Linked DNA regions of Homo sapiens: region 2 is linked to region 1. Evidence: promoter capture Hi-C in 16 types of primary human blood cells and fetal thymus (Javierre and others, 2016). All regions are on one chromosome and are shown on one strand. Each heading gives the region's core, a stretch centred on a gene start or on the middle of the fragment in contact. The rest is flanking DNA. Distances are from core to core; before and after follow the strand shown. Region 1 holds the start of MIR1-1HG (MIR1-1 host gene). Region 2 overlaps LOC105372710 (a long non-coding RNA gene).

Region 1 (7,528 bases), core at 1,741-4,240:
CCCTTCCCCGCCTGCCCCTCTGACATCACTGGGGGGCCTGTTCATTCACCCCCACCCAGGCCTTCCCTGACCTCTGACCTCTGACCTGCAAGGCGGGACTCCAGGCCCTGCCCCCTGCTCCCCGGCTGCTCCTTCCGGCCCCCATGCCTGGCGCTGGGCCTGTCTCCACATTCCCTGGGCTGTGCATTTTCTCTCTCCCCCGCTGTCCCATACGGCGCCAGCTACATGAGCCTCCTGAAGCTGAAACAAATCAAAGCTGCACTGACTAAAAAATCCAGGTCTGCAGGGGCACCAGCCCCGTTTCTGAGAGCTTGGCAGCCACCGTGGCCAGTGGGAGCCGTGTGAGACAGGGCAGAGCACTCACCGTCATGGCGTGTTCCACCGGACGGGGCCTCGTGGTCAGCCCCGCAAGGGCGGGGTGAGCCTGCTTGTCCCCTGCTTGGGTCCTTGCTCAGGCGTCCCTGTGGGGCGAGGGCTGTGGTGGCCTTGCTGTCGGGGCTTACTGCTTGCTCCTTCATTCATTCACGCCTTAAACCACCTGCAGACACCAAGGGGAAAGTCTCGGGGGCCTAGGCCCTTCTCCCCTCTCTTCCCCTTCTGCCCCCTCTACCCCGTCTCCCCCTTCTCTCCCCTCTCCCCTCCCTCCCGTCTCTCCTACCCACTGCGGTCTCCCTTTCAAATCATGGTGGAGTGGGCCACGGGCAGCACGGCCCTGGGCCGTCAGGGGCGAGGGCTATGGGCTCTGACTTTACTGCCCTGGCGAGGACAGCCGTGGACATGGTGGGGGCCAGAACACACCCAGCTCCGATCAGTGCTTGGTATGGGACCTTGGGAGAGTGAGGCACCCACCCTGAGCCCACGTTCCTTCTCCGTAAAGTGGGGACAGCAAAATGCTCTCCTCTTAGGGATGCCTTGAGTGCAGCATAGAGCCCCTGCAGAAGCTTCTGGAACACCAGGCAGCCTAAGTGCTGTGTGCCGGCTGTTACTGTGAGGCTGGTGCTATGGGTAAACGGGGGAACTGCTCTGTCTTCTGGCTCTGTCCTACGGCCTGGGGGCTGTCAGATCTGGCCACCCACACCAGCCCTTCTCCTGGAAGGAGATGGCCCTGTGCCCGTGCCCTGGTCCGTGGGTGTGGGGCTGCCGTGAGGAGGGTGATTTATGGCCACGTCTGCTGCATACCCTCTCTCTCACCACCACAAAGCACCCGCATCCTTTACAGAGCCGCCTGCCCAGGCCTGCAGACTGCTCCCCACCTCCCCCATTGTGGCTGTCTATGCCCCTGACCCCAGCTGCAGGCCTGGCCTGCCCCCCTCAACCCTGCCTGGAGACGGCAGGCAGGAGGAAGTGGGCTGCAGGGGAGGGGCCTTGCAGGGGGAGTTTGGACACCACACCTCACACCACGCTCTCCCGCTGCCAGTGGGAAGCCGAGTGGCTATTTAGTTTCCAGAAAAGTGCTCAGACCAGGTAGAAGCTTAAAACCTCCTGGCCTCCTTTATGGTGAGACATGGGGTCTTTAGCGGGGCGTACAGGGCTGGGAGAAGGGCCTGGCATCACTCAAGAAGCCTCTGCACTGGGCAGGTGCAGGGGGCGTCCCTCTGTCCCTCGCTGTCGCTGGCCGGAGGACACCAGAGTGGGTGTCGGCGTGTGTGGCGAGTGTGGCTGGGGCTCCGGCTTCTCCCCATGACTCTGCAGAGCCGGCCTTGGGATGTGGGGAAGGGGCCGTGAGCCCAGGAGGTGAACCTGGAGGAGAGCCCTGCCTCAGCTCCTGTGGGCCAGCCTGGGGGGTGTGCAGGCTCCTCAGGGGCTCCCCTGGGATTAGATGCAGCTGAGCCTGTTCTGAGCGGCATAGACTCCCCGGCCCTGTGTCCCTAACTGGCCAGAACCACAAGGGGATGCCTTCCTAAGTCCGGGAGGCACTGGGGACATTTATGAGGTGGCTTCTGAACAGGAGGACCTATGCTCTGGACAGGACTCACAAATACCAAAGCTCATTGTCCCCATCACACGGGCCTGTGCCTGCCACCAACGAGCGGGGTCCCCGGACCACTGTGGTCCACTGTCATTCCACGACCTGGTCCCCAGTCCTGTGGGGCCCCAGAGAGATGGGACGACCAGCCAGCGTCACACAGCCTGTGAGGACAGTCTGCCAGTTCAGGCCTCTGGTCTCTGCGTCCAGGCCCTGCAAGGACAGATCCCCGTCAGGCCCCGTCCCAGGCCCTCGTCTGTTACATAATTCGGGCGTGAAATCCCGGAAGGGGGAGCTCCTGAGCCCGTCCAGCACCCGGGATTGGGGTCTCCCCATCACACACCCTTGGTGGCAGGGCCTGGCTGGGGGCGGCAAGCAGGTTGACCTTGCCTCTGTCCAAGGCGACTGGCATTTGTCATGACTTGGGGTTGGCTTGAGAGTCTCCGGAAACCCAGGTGGCTCTGTCACCACCTGATCCTGGCCCCAATTCTAGGCAAAAGGGCAGAGCCGATGGGACTGTGGAGGGGGCCACCCACTCCTGGTGGCCTGGGTGGGCTCAGCCCACTGGAGGCTCAGAGCAGCGAAGGAGGCCGTACCATTCTGCCCGCCCCCCCCACCCCCGGCCCTGCAGCCTGGGAGATGCCCGGGTCTCCCCAGGGCACCCTAGGAGCCGGCTGGCATGGCATGGAGGCTGCTGCCCGGCTACTGAGGAGGCGCCTCTGTACTGGCTGGGCTAAAAATAGCGGGGGGATCTCGGGCAGGGACAGCCGGTGGGAGGCCTGTCAGGGAGGGGCCGGGAGGGGCAGGACAGCAGCCTGAGCCCGGGACCCGCCGTCAATGGCGTGGGTGCTCCCACCCTGTTCCCGGTGGCCGGGCCAGCCGCGGCCCAGCTGACAGGCTATTTTTTCCCCTGCTTGACTAAATATGGTCAGGGAGCGCAGCCCGAGGGGGCCACTTGGCCAGGGCCGCGTGTTTGGGATGCTTGGCCGGGTATATAAGAACTGCAAAGGTGAGGCCGGCTCCTGACCCGAGGGGGGCCCCCACGCCCGCTCTGGCCTCTCAGGTCAGGCCCTCCCCTCCCCTCCCCTCCCCTCCCCCGCCCCTGTGTCTCCGCGAGCCGGCTGTGTGCCTGCGAGAGCGTGCACACCCGCGGGACCTTCCCTTTTGTTCCACCCTGACCTCTACCTTCTCTACCTTGTGCTGACCCCGCTGGGGTGCAGGGGTTCCCTTCGGAGGAGGCCGGGGCTCAAGGTGTGCAGCTCGGCCGCCTCTCCCTAACTCTGCACCAGCGCCTTCTCTCTCTCTCTCTCTCTCTCTCTCTCTCTCTCTCTCTCTCAAGATCTCCCTCCTGCTAAGTCTGCGCTGCTGCAGGAGGGCTGGGGGAAGGGCAGGGGTGTGGAGAGGGGGTGCCTGGTGTCTTCTTTCTCTCTCTGCCCCCACCAAGTGCGGACGCATCGAGCTTCGGCCCCCACCCCTGCATTCGCGATTGGCTCCCGGAGGAGGTGGCTGGTGCTGCCGCCGCTGCAGCATCTCCTAGGGAGCCGCGACCCTGCGCCCGCCGCCGCTGCCGCTGTCACCAGCCCGGCCCCAGGGGTGCCCTGGGCTCCGCGGTGAGTCCTGCTCAGCCCATCACCACCGCTGGGCCGCCGGGACGGCCCCTGCAAACTTGCCGGGCACCGCGGTGGGGGGTGTGCCTGCCAGCGAGGTGGGTGCTGCGGGTGCCGGCGCCGTGCGGCTCCGGCGGGGGTGCCGTGGAGTTTTCTCTTGGCTCGCGGCATCATCCACATTTGGAAAACTGCAGAGCCAGCAGCCGGCAGGGCCTGGAGGGCGCGTCCAGCTGGGAGGCAGGAACTTTGACTTGCGGGCATTTTGCAAGAAAGCAGCGGCCCCCCACGCGGGCAGTGGATGGCATGGGGGCTTCGGGGCTGGGCTGGGGGCGCGATTCACCTGCCGCTCCGCAACAAAGCCCCGGCAGCCGGGCGTGGGGCTAAACTTACCTTGAACTTGCAGTATCCCCCACTGAGGTGCTGGTGGGGGGCAGGGATTCCCGAGCTGAGCGGCGGCGAGGCTGCCCCCGGCCGGGACTCGGCACTTCTGCAGCTCTCCCAGCCACGTCAGGGTCAGGAGGCGTTTACAGGGGCAGGGCGGCGAGGTGGGGGGCGGGGGGCACATGTGGGCGGAGACTAGGGGGGCTTCGGGGAGAGCAGCCCTGGTGGTCGGCGTCTGTGCAGGTCCCTGCTGGGGAGCTTGACTTCCCGCGTGGCCTCCCGCGGCGCTGATGCCGGGGGCCGGGCGGTATTCACCGCTGAAGAGCCCCGGAGGAGGCCCCGGGCACAGGAGCCAGCTCGGCTCACGGTGGGGTCTGCTTGGAGGCGGCTGGGTGCTCTTTTTCTATGCAGACGGGAAACTTTTTGAAAAGTGACTACAATTCATTTGTGAGTGGGCAGAAGTCCTGTGGACTCTGGCTGGGTCTGGGGTGACTCTCCTGCCCTTTGGGACTCCCAGCTTTCCCCTTGACCCCCAGACCCCGTCCAGATGAATGCCTCACAGGTCGTGGGGGCTTGAGCCAGGCTGCGGGAGTGTCCCAGGCTCTGAGAGCTCATGTGCCAGGGAGCTGGGGACGTTGAGGAGGCCTTTTCCCTGGACTCCGGGGACGGTTATTGCGGAGGTCTTGGGAGGGCACAGATGAGCGGCGGAACCCAGGTGCCCCCGAAGTTGAAGCTCAGGCTGCGGTGTCGGGTGCCCTTTTTGTATCCTTGGCTACGTGAAAATGATAAATCACAGCAGCTACGTGGAAATGGGACATCAGCTTCTGCTTCTGTCTGCCATTTGCTCCTTCCTTTGTAGAGGGGATGCCTCCAGAGCCTTAAGCACAACCCCCACCCCCCGCCCCCACCCACCCCCACGTGAAACTCCAACCCAGCCATGCCCAGCTGCAGACCCACTGCCACACAGCCACAGCATGCTCAGTGGCCTCTGCACACTGCAGGCTCTGCGGAGACATTGCCCTGCCCTGGGTGGTAAGAGAGAACCAACTCGCTCCGGGCTGTCCCCTCGCATGGACGGGCTGCCTGGAGGAGCAACAGAGTCATGTTGGACCTCTCTTCCTGATGAGGACAACGGGAGGTCCTTTCATGTCCCGGGGCTGCTGTCCCACCCCACGCCAGGGTCAGTGGCAGGACAGGGGCCAGGGCCCAGCTGGACCCCACCGCTTAGCAAGCCTCCTGTGTCTGTGCCCGGCCTGCACCCCCAACTGGCGCCTCCCTGGCCCCCGTCCCCCCCAGGCACCTGCAAAGCCTTCTTTCCACCTCTCACCACCGCACGTGCCAGGCTCGCCCTGGGCCACTGCGAGGCCTCGAAACCCTGCAGGCCTCCTCCTCCTCCTCCTCCTCCTCTCCCCGCTCCCAGCAGGTTCGGGGCGGCTTCCCTTCCTGCTGGTGAGGGCCTAACCTTGAGGTCCCATTGGTCTCCTTCTGGCTCTTTCTCCACATTTTTCAGAGTCTGGCTTCACGGCTGGTCATAGAAGTTGGCAGGGAAGGAGGCAGCCTCTGCTTCCCACTCAGAGACATTTTTAAACGCAATGAAAAACATATCGATACAATTAAGTATTCCAAAGTGCTTAGTTTGCCACTCGCTAAGTTTACTTAAACCCTCTTTAACAGGCTCATTAGGAGCTGGTGAGCACCGGGAAATTCATTAACAGGAAGGCGGCCCCCTGCATTTGACTGTAAATTGGTATTGATCAGGGGCTGGTGGAGGCTGGGCGGCTGGCCACAAAGAGCCAGGTGTGGGACCAGCCTCCCGGGGGTGCCACGGCAGTGGCGCTGGGCAGGTGACGGTGGCTGCTGACCCCCGGTGCCCATGTAAGCTGCTGGCTCTGCGCAGCTGCCGCTTCAGGTGGGCCGCACTGCGCGGCGGTTCAGGGTGGTGACGCTGCGAGGCGGGGACGGGGGAGAGGGTGAAGAAGAGCGAGAGAAGGAGGGAGAGAACCGGGGGAGCGACGCTCCCTCGCCCACTGGGTGTCTGCTGTGGCCAGGCTGAGGCACCTAGGGAGTTGCCCCCCTAGTGGACGGCCTCTCAGGAGATCCTGACCACCCTCTGGGAACCTGGACTCCTCCAAGCATCGTCTTTCTCGCCTGCATCTTCGGAGAGAGGTGCTGAGCCCTTCCTCATGGATACGGGGTCCCGGGAGGCAGCCTTCACCAGGGACCTGCCCAGGAAACCAGCAGATGCCCAGGTAAGCCCCCAGGACACCTCTCGGGTCTCTGGTCTGCAGTTCCTCGTCTGGCCTCAGGAGCAAGGAGTTGTCCAGCTCCCGGAGAAGGAGGAGGCTGGTCCTGCGAGTGGGGTGCTGGGCAGGGCGCCCCCCAAGGTTCCTCTCTCCACCCAGCCCTCTCTGGGCTTGGCTGGGATGAGGTGACCCAGGGGGACAGGAAAGTGTTGGCTTTGAAAGTTTGGGACATGGATGATGCCTCCCTGCTCTGGGGTGAGGGTGGAGGGGCAGCCTGTCTCTTCCATGGACGCAAAACCGAGCTACTGCTGGGGCCAGGGACAGGCGCTCGAGACTTTCTGGGGCTCACTGTCCACTTCTGCCTTTCTGGATCGTGTGAGTGTGTGAGACAGACAGAGAGAGATGGATTCAGGGATGGAGGGGCGCCGAGGTCAGAAGGGGGCAGGGAGTCCTGGGCCCCTGGGGGTGGCTGGACACCAGGCAGCAGTGGCAGGAAGGCTGTCCTGCTCACACAGAGAGGGCTCCGGCAGTAGACTCCAGGGAAGAAGTTACACTGCCTCTGAGCTGCCTTCTCTACATCGCAGTGGGGTCAGCTTCTACCGGGGCGGCGTCCCGGGGTCTTGGAACTGCATGCAGACTGCCTGCTTGGGAAACATACTTCTTTATATGCCCATATGGACCTGCTAAGCTATGGAATGTAAAGAAGTATGTATCTCAGGCCGGGACCTCTCTCGCCGCACTGAGGGGCACTCCACACCACGGGGGCCGCCGCGGCCGACAGCCAGCCAGGCGGCTGTGGTGGGGGTGAGGCTGGGGCGGCAGGCTGCCTGGGCGTTGGTGGACGGTCGTGTCCCCGCCAGCATTGTTCTGTCACTTTGCCTGTGTCAGCAGGTGGAAGTGCTCACCAGACATTAAATATTCAGCTTGCTGACTGCGGCAGAGGGGAGGCGGCCTCCGGCAGGCGCGGGGTCCAGCGCGGGGCTGGTGAGGGCTGGGGGGTCGGGGCCGTGGCTGGAAAGCACGGAGTGGTGGCGGCGGCTCTGGGGGCTCCACTGATGGCCATCCTGGAAGAGGCCATCAGCCGGCAGAAAGGGCCACGTGTGGCCAGGGCAGAAACTGCTCAGAGGCACAAGACAAGAGCGAGTTTGGAAAAGGGCAGGTGGCTGGATGCAGAAAGGAGGGAGAGGCTGGGCAGCACATGGTAGAGTCTGCGGAGGGAAGGCACCTCCTGCACCTGCATCCAGCCCTCCCGGCTGTAGGGCAAGGCAGAGGAACTCGGAGGCATGTAGCCTCCAAGGAAGGCGCAGCCCACACGAGATGCTGGGGACGCG
Region 2 (6,929 bases), core at 1,066-3,565, 120 kb before region 1:
CCCAGGCACCGGCGTCCGGGCTCGCAGGAAGCATTGCAGAATGAGGCAGCAAGGCCTCAACACGCTGCTGGCAAACCGTGGCCAGGTTTCAGCGTGGGGGCTGCTCCATCGCCCCATTATACAGCTGAGGAATGAGGCCCCAAGTGTGTGTGTGGCCTCCCAGCCCTGGCAGCCACCCCCACCTGCACCTGAGGGGCTGGGGCTGCTGGGCCTGGGGTGAGGGACCAAGAGGGCTCTTCATGGCCCCCTACACCTGCTTCCTAGGCCAGATGGGGGCCCAATGCCCCACCCCAGAGGTGAGGCAGCCTTTTATCTCTGAGCTGGGAGGGGTGGGAGATAAGCTTCAAAGGCATCTCGCTGTAAAACGCACCTTTAAAAGCCGGCCCTGCTGCCTGGTATTTGTGTTACTGGAGCGATAGATAAAGGGTGGGGTGGCCAGTGCAGTGGCCAGGTCAGGCCAGCCCTGCAGCCCTGGCCCCCAGATAAATGGGTCACCTATTAGCACGGCCCTGCAGGAATGGGACTGCCTTCTGTGACAACCGGGGCCCATCCCCACCCTCCCTGCAGACAAGCCCTTGCTGGCCCGGCTGGGGGGCATCCTGATGGCGGGTGCTGTGTGCCCATGGGGCCAGGCTGCACTGGGCAGGAGGGGTGCAGATGTGGGCCCTGCCTGGGCACTTGGGAGGGCGGAGGCTTTCTTGGTGGGGGGAAGGATCAAGCCCCCCGTCTTTCCTCCACATGGTCTCACTGCTAGTCACCCTATTTTATGTTCTCATGATTTTTATTTGTATAGCTTCATGGGGTTTAAGTACGATGATGCTGCATTGAGACGTTGTACTGTGTGAAGTCAGGGCCTTCTGTGCATCGGTCGAGGGTGCAATGCACACGGCACCCCCGAGCAGCCACCCATCCTCCCTTCCCTCCACCCTGCGAGGCCCCGTTGTCCGTCTGTCCACACTCTGCTCCATGAGCACACGTGACTTAGCTTCGCCTTGTGAGTGAGAACCTGCAGTATTTGTCTTTCTGTCCGAGTTGTTTCACTTAAGATAACGTAGGCACCCTCTTTTAAAAATTACTTTTTGCTAATACAAGAACTGCAAGGATGCCCCCTGCCCCCTCCTGCGAAGCACTAAACATGACAAATAAGACCAAAGTCTCCTTTTATTGTCGCGTCTCATCCCCTCCCCAGGTGAGCCGCTGCTTGGGGTGAGCATGCTTCCTGCTGGATGCTTCTCTATGTAAGCACCTGCCTGAGTGTCAGCCCTCTTAAGGTGAACCGCTCCGTGTCATTCGTACATTCACAAGTTTGTGCCGCCATCATCGTGATCGGATTCCAAAACATTTTCATCACCTCCAAGAAAGCCTTGTACCTGGCAGCAGTCACTGTCTCTATGGATTTGCTTATTCTGGACATTTCATAAAAATAGAATCAAACAGCATTTGGCTCTTCGTGTCTGGCCTGTTTCTCTGAGCACGATATTTCGAAGATTCAGCTGGGTCTCGCTCCTGTTCCTGGCTGAAGCTGAATAATATTCCAGTGCACGGCTGGACCACAGTCATCAACTGACGGACACTTGGTGGTCTCACATTTCCACTGGTGTGAATAGTCCTGCTGTGAACATGCGTGTGCGAGATTTTGGTTGAACACTTGTCCTCAGTCCTCTTGGGTGTGTATCTAGGAGTGCAATTGATGGGGCTTATGGTAACCCTAAGTTTAACTTTCGTTTACTTTTTTGAGACAGAGTTTCGCTCTTGTTGCCCAGGCTGGAGTGCAGTGGCACGATCTCGGCTTACTGCAACCTCTGCCTCCAGGATTCAAGTGATTCTCCTGTCTCAGCCTCCGGAGTAGCTAAGACTATAGGCATGCGCTACCACGCCCAGCTAATTTTTGTATTTTTAGTAGAGACGGCGTTTCACCATATTAGTCAGGCTGGTCTTGAACTCCTGACCTCAGGTAATCTACCTGCCTTGGCCTCCTAAAGTGTTGGGATTACAGGTGTGAGCCACCGCGCCCAGCCACTGTAGTATTTTTAAGAAGTCTAAATTAATGGGAAAAATTCACAATGAACCAAATAACCAAGTTTTATATAAAGACAGGATTAGGGTGAGGCAGGCGAGTCCCTTACTCTTGGGGCTGTGAGAGTGTGGGGTGGAATCGGCTCCAGGGTCCCAAGGTGTGGCCGGAGAATGGGCCTGGTAGGGAGACCTGGGCATGGTGCCCGTCTCCGGCCTCTGTCCTGTAAGGGTTTGCCTATGCCTCCGCCTCATCAGATTGCTCTAAAGATAGGACACAGCAGCACACGGGGCCCAGGCTGGGGTGAGTGGACCCCTCCCTGAGACCTTCATCTGCCACCGAGGTGAGGACAGCCATCAGCCTCCTCAGAGCCTTAGGGTCTGATCCCTCCTGGACCGGCCCACAGATCCCCAACGGACTGGAGTCCCCTGTGGCTGCTCCCCTCCCTCTCCCAGCCAGCTCTTGGGCATCCAAGCACCCCTCTGCAGGGAAGCCCTCCATGACTGTAGGTAGGTCAGGCCTTTTCCCAACAGGCCTGTAAGATGCAAGTCTTGGGTAGAAACTGTGTATTGGCTCAGGGGTCTTCAGGGTGCTACCTTCTTGAGACAGGAAGTGTTTGCCCGTTCATTGCTGTCTTGGCCCCTGGCATATGGTGGTACTTCATAAACATTTCTTCCTTTCTTTTTCTCTGAGGCAGGGTCTTGCTCTGTTGCTCAGGCTGAAGTGCAGTGGTAAGACCATAGCTTGCTGCAGCCTTGAACCCCTGGGCTCAAGTTATCTTCCTACCTCAGCCTCCTGAGTAGCTGGGACCATAGGTACACGCCACCATGCTTGGCTAAATTTTTAAAAATGTTTTGTAGAGATGGGGGTCTCTCTTTTCTGCCCAAGCTGATTTTGAACTCCTGGGCTCAAGCGATCCTCCCGCCTCGGCCTCCCAAAGTGCTGGGATTACAGGTGTGAGCCACCGTGCCTGGCCCTGGTGGGTTGTGTCTTACCCAGAAAACTCAAGTGCTAAGAGGCAAAGCCTAAAGGTTCCTCTGGGCTGAGACGGGATGGGCCCTGCTTGGTGAGAACTGGGGAGTGGTTTAGGGGAGGGCTGTGTTTCCTAAAGAGCCGACAGAAGCCTTTTACTCTGGCTAAACTATTTGTTCCTATACCTTTGTTAAATATTATGAAAATGAGGGTACCTGTGGAATGGGGACCCTGTGTGTGGAACTGGGGGGATGGCTGGGAGGGGTCTTCCCAGGCCAAGTCCTGGTTGGGCTCTTGCCTGGGATGTGTGGGGTGGAGGCTCCGGGGAGGGGGCAGAGGTGCCTGGGGGTGAACCAGCGGGTACCCCGGGCCATTTTGACCTCTGACCTCAGCTTCCTTTTTGAGACAGTGGGGCTGCCTTGGTGCCTCTCTCCTGGAGGGTGTGGGTTAAATGAGAGGGGTTCTGTGCCAGGGCCCAGGGCTGTGCCACTCACTGAGGGTCCTAGCGACACTCCTGAGATGGTTCTTATTTTGTCACCATTTTCCAGGGCAGTGCCAGCCTTGGCAGACGGGCCGGACAGAGGAGGGATGATGGCTCAGGCTGGCAGGGGCTGCCACGGGGCAGCGATGGCCACCTCGAGCCTGGCCAGTGCTTCTGGACTTCCTCTCTGCTGACTTTGTTCCCTGGCTAGAAACAGTTGTGGCAGCGCTCCCAGACCGGGCGTCTGCACGGAGTGGCCTCAGCTTCCTTGAGCTGTGGGAATTTAACGAGAGTAAAATGGGACCATAAATCTCTGTCGGTCGGGATAACTTGATCCGTGATTTTGGAGGGCAGGCCGGAGCAGGGACAAGGAGGTGTCTGTGATGGGAGCGATCCCCGGACTGAGCTGGGCTGTCTGCTGGCACGTCACAGATAATAAAACCGCGTCGTCCTGCAGCACACGGAGACTGTGTCAGATCGAGATGTCATAACCTGTGCCTTGTGGCCAGGAGCCTGGTGTCGGGGAGGCACGGTCCATACATCACAGATCCCACGCACATCATAAAGATACATTAATGGTCTATGTGTCTTTAAAGAAATACTAATATTGTTGTTTTATGAGAAACTAGAGTTGAAAATATTAAAAGTCAGAATTTTATGGCCTAAAAGAAAGTTAAATGATGAGGATGTGGGAAGGGAGACTGAAGTATCCGTCACCGCCCGAGCCAGAGTCCTGGATGGGGACATGGCGGGGGAGGGGCCGCCTGGCTTTGATGAACTTGGCCAGCTCTGGCAGCCTCTGTGTGAACCTTCGGCTCAGTTAGAAGCTTCCTCCTTGGGAAGGGTTTGGAAAGCCGAGATAGAGGACGAGGGCATTGGGGTTGTCCAAACAGTTGCATGGCTCGGCAGTGGGACACATGGCAGGAACAGGGCCTCCAGGAAGCCCAGGCCCTCCTGTTTTGGGGCATGATCAGGGAGCGTGGATGGGGACACCCAGAGGACTCGGTCTCACCCAAGCCCTTTCCAGAAGGAAATCCTCCTGGCTTGCCACATGCTCCTTGTCGGATGACAATTTCCTCTGGTGCAGGTTTAAATTTTTATGTGACAGATCGGCTTGAATGACCCTTGGAAAAGGAGCAAGTGAAGGGGCAGTGGAAGGCACCGTGGATGGCACCGTGGATGGCACCATGGATGCCTGGGGTGTCAGGGGCGAGGTCCTGGCCTGAGCCATGCAACCACATGTGGGGCCGAGTCCCCCAGACCCAGGGACCAGCTCCTTCCACCCTGGAATCTGCGTGCAGCAGGCGCTGATGAGCGTCTGTGGACGAGGGATGGATTGACCTGGGTGAATGCGCCTGTGGGCGAGGGATGGACTGATCCCTTTTCTTCGCTGGCTGTGCCCCTTACCCACGGCTGTGCTCTGTGCTGGAGTCAGTGGGGAATTCGGGGCCTGAGGGCTCTTTGCAGCTCTCTCTTGCCCCATTGTGCCTGCGTGAGGACCCCTGGGACACGGGCACACCCAGGGTGAGGATCTGCCAAGGCTTTGCTCAGGGTTTAAGATGCTTATTACTAAGGTGAGATTTCCATGAAATAAAATCACTCATTTTAAGGGAGTCAGTTCAGGGGTGTTTAGCGCATTCACTCTGTCATGAGCCAGCACCTTGACCTAGTTCCAAAACATTTTCCTGCCCCCAAAAGGAGACCCTGTGCCCATTAGCAGGTCCTCCCCATCCCTCCCTCAGCCCTGGCGACACTGCCCTGCTTCTGTCCCCGGATTTGCCAGCTGGGTGTTTCGTGTCACCGTATCCACGCCACGTGCAGTCTCTTGTGCGTGGCTTCTTTTCCTGAGCACTGTGCTTTTGAGATTCACCTCCATGGTAGCTTGCACCTGTGCTTCGCTCCTGTTAAGTTCTGGGCTGCATGGACGGACTGCAGTGATCTGCTCATCCGCTGATGGGCATCTGGGTGGCCTCCACTTTTGGCTGGGAAGAGGCTGCTGTGGGTGTCCAGGCACACTCCTGCCTTCGGCTCTTTTAGGTGTTTTGCTCAGGATTTGAGACACGTTTTCTCTCCCTCAGAGGAGCACCTGTTGAAGAATCATGACCTCTATCGAGCATTTACCTGGTCACGGACATTTTGCTGAAGAATTCACAAGTTCATATAAGGACACGCTTCATCTCAAGTGTCCAGTTCAATGAGTTCTGACAGATACGGACAGTCGTGTGACTCCAGATCACAATGTAGGACGTTCTGGTCACCACGGGCTCCTGGATGCCTCTTCCTAGTGAGTTTCACCCCATGCCCTGCTTTCTATTGCAGGAGATTAATTCTCTTATAGGATTTTGTATAAATGGAACCACACTGAGGCGGGAGGTGGGACTTGACCCTAGAGACAGGGCTGAAACTCTGGACCAGATTGAAGACTGGCTGAGACAGGGAAGAGGCATCTCTCCATAAGATACCCACCAGTGCCAGGCCAGTTTACCATTGCCACGGCGACACTTGGGAGTTACTCCCCCTTTCCATGGTGATGACTTGGAAGTACCACTCTTTTTCTAAAAATTCAGAATGCAGGTATGAATATGAGTGCAGCACTGCCTCTGAGCAGCTGCTCTGGGCTCGCTGCCTGTGGGGGAGTCCTACCTCACAAGGAGGGGTCCCTCTGCTGCTGCTGTGCACGGCCGCTTCAATCAAAGCTGCTAACGCCACCGGCTCACCCTTAAATTCTTTCCTGGGCGAAGCCAAGAACCCCTGTGGGCTAAGCCCCAATTCTGGGGCTCACCTGCCCTGCAGTGGTGCTCTGTGTGGCTCTGATGTCTGCCAGAACAATGGACTGGAGGCCTGTGTGTGTGGCACATGTGCCTTGTGTGGGTGGCACTCTGCTCACCCATTCACCTGCAATGGCCGTCTGGGTCATTTGCACTTTTTGGTGATTGTGAACGGAGCTGCGATAAACATCCGTGTGCCGGTTTTCCAGGAACCCAGGCGCGGATGGCCAGGCCCTGTGATAAGCATCTGTGTAACTTTACAGGAAACTGCCCATCTGCTACCCACGGTGGCCATGCCCTTTCATTCCTGCCAGGGCACAGGAGCGTTCCAGTTCCTCCACGTCTTTTCCAACACTTGGTATTTTCTGCCTTTTAAATTTTAGTATTTCTTGTTGGTATTTGTCGCAATTTAAAGATCAGAAAATGGAGGCTCAGAGAGGTGAAGTGAACTGTCCAGGCTGCACAGTGGGGAGGGCAGGGTCAGAACCTGCCCATGACCTTTGGACTGTGACCCCACCTCTCAGACAGAGCTGGTCTGTGCTGGCCCCTGAGGCCCCAGACTGACCGCAAAGGCCTTCACTTCACACCACAGCCCCATGCCCCAGTGCCCCCTAAAGCCCTCAGTGGCCCCCCTGCCTCCAGCCCATTCCTGCCCTTCTCCTCCCTGCTCCAGCCATGCTGGTGCCTTCCTCTC

What was found. The method cuts DNA at HindIII sites, captures the fragments that hold promoters and counts their contacts. A CHiCAGO score of 5 or more calls a contact.
Region 2: a fragment that was not itself captured here is called in contact with the fragment with the promoter of MIR1-1HG in region 1 in 1 of 17 cell types (M1 macrophages); the score reaches 6.6 in M1 macrophages.

Annotation. Positions count from the first base shown.
Region 1 is chr20:62,547,463-62,554,990 of GRCh38, forward strand. MIR1-1HG (MIR1-1 host gene) reads left to right here and starts at 2,991. Exons shown (of 4, transcript NR_171007.1): 1 at 2,991-3,576; 2 at 6,003-6,203. It overlaps CRMA (cardiomyocyte maturation associated lncRNA), which reads right to left and starts at 4,099. Exons shown (of 7, transcript NR_033263.1): 1 at 3,964-4,099; 2 at 850-999; 3 at 365-538; 4 at 86-240. It overlaps MIR1-1 (microRNA 1-1), which reads left to right and starts at 6,844; the gene lies at 6,844-6,914. RefSeq lists an enhancer at 3,078-3,953. The HindIII fragment of the contact is 7,236 bases long and covers 1,470-7,528 here.
Region 2 is chr20:62,430,071-62,436,999 of GRCh38, forward strand. It overlaps LOC105372710 (a long non-coding RNA gene), which reads left to right. Exons shown (of 4, transcript NR_187662.1): 3 at 794-994; 4 at 1,190-1,439. Among named protein-coding and RNA genes, the nearest start is that of RBBP8NL, 6.0 kb to the left of the region's middle. The HindIII fragment of the contact is 3,953 bases long and covers 340-4,292 here.